Regions from separate parts of the Homo sapiens genome. Here region 1 is linked to region 2. The links are contacts of gene promoters, found by promoter capture Hi-C in human tissues and cell types (Jung and others, 2019). All regions are on one chromosome and are shown on one strand. Each heading gives the region's core, a stretch centred on a gene start or on the middle of the fragment in contact. The rest is flanking DNA. Distances are from core to core; before and after follow the strand shown.

Region 1 (2,721 bases), core at 64-2,563, 140 kb after region 2:
GCCCCTTTGCCCCAGTGAAGAGGGCACACCTGGGGGCACTGAGGAGTCACCGAGTCCAGAGGGGTGACAGACACAGGCACACCCCACCCCAGATTACCTGGTGTGGCCCACGGCAGCACCGGCAGGCACCTCTCCGGTAGAGGTTGAGGAGGTTCTGACACCCGGCCCTGGGGGCTCAGCAACCCCTTCCCCCACCTTCAGCCTCTACTGGGCCTCGCTGCCTGGAAAACCCAGCCTGGGCTCAGCTGACTTCCTCTTGTGTCATGGAAAGTGCAGTGATGGGGACAGGAAACTCCCGCCAGGGATCTGAGGTCTGAGTGGGGACAGGGGCCCAGAGGTTTCTGGACCTGGAGGCCCGGAGGGGTGAAAGGGGCAGGGGTAACTTATGGGGGTGGGCAGCAGGGAGGGAGCCTATAGGGCAGTGTTCTCAGAGGGCAGCGACCCCCTCCACTAGGGTCGAGGCAGTGCCAAGCCCTGGGGGCCTGGAAGACAGCAACCCGAGGCCCTGAGCTACTTTCAGTTTTCCAAAACCAAACTAACAAACAAAAAGAGTAGAAGTTGTACTGTGATGAAGACTCTGAGATCAAAGCAAAGCCCAAATGTTTGGTTTGTTTTCTTTTCTTTGGGTAAGGAGGTGGGGAGTGGTGGCAAGGGTGGCAGAGTGAGGAAAACGTGGGATCATACTTCAGCGTTGACCTCCTGGGGCCGAATACTTTACCTTCTGAGCCTCAGTTTCCTCATCTGTGAAATGGAAAGCTGTGCCCACTTCCATGATAATTGGGAAGACTGAAGGAGCTGACGCCTCTGGCTAGAGGAAGGTGCTTAGTAAAACTTTCCTCGCTCTTTTGGGCTGCAATTATGTACACTGAGTGTGGGAACAGGGGCTGTGAAGGGCTGCTTACTGCACACAGCTGTGTGACCCACGAACAGCACTCATCAAGAAAAAACATCCCAGCAGAGTCTTTGGTGCTAAGAAGGGTGGAGCCATGTCTGTCTCTTTCGTCTTCACATCCCTGGGCTTAGCATGGGACAAATATTGATAAATGAATGAGTGAATGAATGAATGAATGAAAGAGGCTGGGATTTCCAGAGTCAAGGGACCAGGAAGGATGGATGTGAGGGCAAGGGGCAGGGGGCAGGGAACTGGGCCAGGCCTGGCCGGGAGGGGCCGGGTGAGGTTTCCCCATCCCAGGCTGAGGGCACCTCTGGCGGGAGGAAAAGGCACCTCTGAAGGCTGGATGAGGGATGGGTGTGGCCCCAATCACAGCTACCTTAGGAGTTCTCTTTCCTTGATCCTGGGGTGGGGGTCAAAGCTTCCCTCTGCCAAAGAGGTTCAAGCATGCAGCACCCTCCAGCCCTGAGTGAGCAGAAACCGGGGAGTGTCTAAGTGGGTCTAAGGGAGGAGACCACCCCTCCTATTGTCTTATGCCCGATTTCTGCCTCCAAAGAAAGAAGAAGTAAAAACTAAAAGGCAGAAATGAAATCCACAAGCAGACAGCTCGGCGCCACACCCTGGGCCTGGTAGTTAAAGATCGACCCCTGACCTAATCGGTTATGTCATCTATAGATTACAGACATTGTATAGAAAAGCACTGTGAAAATCCCTGTCCTGTTCTGTTCTAATTACCGGTGCATGCAGCCCCCAGTCACGTACCCCCTGCTTGCTCATTCGATCACGACCCTTTCAAGCGGACCCCCTTAGAGTTGTAAGCCCTTAAAAGGGACAGGAATTGCTCACTCAGGGAGCTCGGCTCTTGAGACAGGAGTCTTGCTGATGCTCCCGGCTGAATAAACCCCTTCCTTCTTTAACTTGGTGTCTGAGGGGTTTTGTCTGTGGCTTGTCCTGCTACATTTCTTGGTTCCCTGACCAGGAAGCAAAGTGATTAACGGACAGTTGAGGCAGCCCCTTAGGCAGCTTAGGCCTGCCTTGTGGAGCATCCCCGCGGGGAACTCTGGCCAGCTTGAGCGACACGGATCCTCAGAGCGCTCCCAGGTAGGCAATTGCCCCAGTGGAATGCCTCGTCAGAGCAGTGCATGGCAGGCCCCTGTGGAGGATCAACGCAGTGGCTGAACACAGGGAAGGAACTGGCACTTGGAGTCCGGACAACTGAAACTTGGTAAGACTAGTCCTTGGAACTTGCCCACTCCATTTGAGTGGAAGCATGGCCCAATCACCCATGGCATGCCTTTATCAGCACTTTGGTTTTGGTTTTGGTTTTGACTTGGTTTGAATCGCTTGACAGGACTGGTCTTGGGAACTTGCCTACTCCATTTGAGTAGAAGCGTGTCCTGATCACCCACAGTGTGCCTGTACCAGCACTTTGGTTTTTGTTTTTGACTTGTCTTGGATTGCTTGATACTTTGGTTTTGGTTTTGACCTGGCTTGGATTTCTTGATACTCTGATTTTGGTTTTGATTCTGGCTTGGCGTAAACTGTAAAAGTGTGTGTGTGCCCTTTTTACCCGTTCTTTGTTTTGTGGTGTGAGCATGGTGTTTTGTCTCGAGGAAACATGGGTCAGACACAAAGTAAGCCTACCCCACTAGGAACTATGTTGAAAAATTTCAAAAAGGGATTTAAGGGAGACTCTGGAGTCACTATGACACCAGGAAAACTTAGAGCTTTGTGTGAGATAGACTGGCCAGCATTAGAGGTGGGTTGGCCATCGGAAGGAAGCCTGGACAGGTCCCTTGTCTCGAAGGTATGGCACAGGGTAACCTGTA
Region 2 (2,700 bases), core at 189-2,688:
CTGAGATCGCGCCATTGCACTGCAGCCTGGGCGACAGAGTGAAACTCCGTCTCAAAAAATAAAACAAACAAAAAAACAACCATGGTTATTCCCACTGCGGTTGCCATCGGTTTTGCAAGGGCTAGCCCCCCTCTTCTTTCAAATCAGGAAACTAGTGCAGGCAGGGGACCTGGTTTGTCCCAGGTCACGCTGGGGGCCAGCCCTCCTTCCCTCCACACCCGCCGGAGTATGCCGGGGCAGGCCTCCTGCCACTCACCTGGTCGGCACCGAAGGAGGTGAGGTTGCTCCGGACGGAGCTGGCGGCCAGGCCGAGTAGCAGCAGGCCCGCGTAGAGGACGGGCGCGCAGTAGGGGCTGGGCGAGGAGCGCGGGCAGCCGGCCGAGGGGCAGGCAGGTCCCAGCGGCGACGCGGGCATCTCTCCGCAGAAGGAGCTGCGGCCGTCGGGGAAGGCGGTGGCGGGCAGCAGGCCCGAGGCGGCCAGGTAGAGCAGCAGGCTGAGCGCGACCGCGCGGTAGCGGCCCAGGTACACGTCGGCCAGCCAGCCGCCCACGGGCGCCAGCAGGTAGGAGGCGCCCAGGAATACCAGCGCGGCGCGCGTCGCCTGCTCGCCGGTCCAGTTGAAGTTGGTGCTGTTGAGGTACAGCACGAGGTTGGCGGTGACGCCGAAGAAGGCGGCGCGCTCCAGCATCTCCACCAGCAGCACGGCCGCGCCCGCCGCCCGCCGCCACCGTCGAGGGCCCCGCGCACCGCGAGGCAGCAGCGGCTGGCGCTCCCCGGGCACGCGGGGCTGCTCCCGGGCGCGCGGCGCGGGCATCCTGGCTCCGGGCTGGGCCCCCCGCGGCTCTTCTCTCCTCTCCTCTCCCCGCCTCAGAGCCCTGCACTCCTGCCCCCGGGCCTCGGCCCTCTCCCCCACCCAACTGGCTGGCCCTCCTTTCTCACCGCTTTGGCCCACCCTTCCCTCCTGTCCCCTCTCCCTTTCTTGCCCTACCCTTCCTGTCCCTCCGCTCACTACCCGGACTCTACCACCTCCTCCCTAATTCTCAACTCCCCTCTCCCTTCCCCCACCCCTAAGGCTTCCTCCCCGCGCCTCTCCTGCAGCTGTTTCTCCCTAACTCTCCCCTCTCCTCCCTCCACCTTGACCCTTCCTCGCACTCTTGTTCACACTGCGACCCTCCCTGCTTCACTTCGCTGCCCCTCCGCCTCCCTTTCCCCTCCCCGTTTGTCGCCCCTTCCTGTTGTCCCCTCTCCTTATGACTCCTGGCCTGCCCTGGGCGTGGGGTGGGGGCTCCCTCTGCCCCAGTCACCCTGCTGCCCCTTGCCGTCTTCTCCACCTCCTCCCTGTCCCCCTCACCCCCACTGCCTACACTCCCCTCTCAGTCCCCTGCAGCCCTCCCCCCAGGCTCAGCCTCTGTCCCTCTCTCGGCTTCTTGAGAAACTCTGGGCTCCCCTCGCTTCCCCTTTCACAGGCCCTATCCGCAGTCCCCTGCCTGCATCACATGGCGCTACTGGGTGTTTAGGAGAAGTGAAAGCCTGGGTCACAGGGCTCCTGCCCGGTCAGCTTTCTAAAAACCTCCCTCCTTCTCTACCTCTGCCTCCTACCCCAAACCCCCGCTGCTGGCCTCCTTAGAGCCAAAAAATTCCAGGAGGAATTTTTTCTTTCAGTTTCATTTCTCGCCAGGATTCCACTTTTGCTTTACCCTCTTCCAATCAAACTCCACGCCTCCACCCGAGGCGCCACGGGTAGAAAGAAGTGGAAAGGCTACCTGCATCATTTGGTCACACTCAGCCATTTCACAGATGCAGAGACAGACCCAGTGGGGCTAGGGCAGGAAGGTGGAGAAAGATTGGTTCCTGGTAACTGAACTAGGGGTGAAGCCCTGCCCCGGGCTCCTGAGTGGCAGGGAAATTCACAGCGCAATTCGGATTGCACAGAGGCTGCTGTGAGGAAGGAAGTGGGGCACTTTCAACAAGCCTGCGGGCCATAGAGGACCACAAGTGAGTCGGGATTGAGAGGGACACCGACCTCAGACTAAATCAGAGTCAGCCTCAGAACTCCTAAGCACCAGCCCCACCCTGACCTAGGAGCCCGGGGGATCTGGCCTCTGCTCTCCTCTGATCTCATCTCAGCCCCATGTTCACTCAAGTCCAGCCAGCCGGCCTCCCAGGTTCCCCTTCCATGCTAAGCTCCTCCCTGCCTCAGGGCCTTTGTCTTTGCTGACCCCTCTGCCATAACTGCTCTCCCTCCATATCCTTGCATGGCTGGCTGCTTCTCTTTATTGAGGTTTCAGCATATATGTCTCCTTTGTAGGGACCTTCCCTGATTTTCCCATCTAAGTAGTTTCCTACTGGATTCTCAGCATCCCCCATCACATTGTCTTGTTTTAATGTCTTCAGAGCACATATTACTTGTTCAGTTAGCACCAGTAGAATAGGCCCTCCATCAGATCAGAGACCTTTTCTAACTCTTCACTGTTTTATTCTCAATGGCTTCCCAGTGCTTGGCAAATAGTAGGTGCTCAATAAGTATTGCCTGAATCAATGAATGGAAAGAGTGTCCCAAGGCAAAATTTGTAAGAATAATAATATCAGGAAAGCTAAAGCTAAATAAACTGAGTCTCACAAAAGCTATAGATACCAGCAAAAAAAGCACTATAGATACCAGCAAAAAAGCGAGGGATTTTTTGTTGTTGTTGTTTGTTT

What was found. Contacts are between HindIII fragments. The study calls those that stand out against the background at their distance.
Region 1: a contact is called between a fragment that was not itself captured here and the fragment with the promoter of SLC15A3 in region 2, in 3 of the 25 tissues and cell types used here (H1 embryonic stem cells, lymphoblastoid cells and mesendoderm cells).

Annotation. Positions count from the first base shown.
Region 1 is chr11:61,092,200-61,094,920 of GRCh38, forward strand. LOC105369325 (a long non-coding RNA gene) reads right to left here and starts at 159. Exons shown (of 2, transcript NR_188502.1): 1 at 98-159. It also overlaps a transcript of CD5 not described here. RefSeq lists an enhancer at 1-722. The HindIII fragment of the contact is 6,674 bases long and covers 1-2,721 here.
Region 2 is chr11:60,950,738-60,953,437 of GRCh38, forward strand. SLC15A3 (solute carrier family 15 member 3) reads right to left here and starts at 1,439. Exons shown (of 8, transcript NM_016582.3): 1 at 257-1,439. The coding sequence starts at 814. RefSeq lists silencers at 722-881, 1,202-1,431 and an enhancer at 1,612-1,751. The HindIII fragment of the contact is 25,133 bases long and covers 1-2,700 here.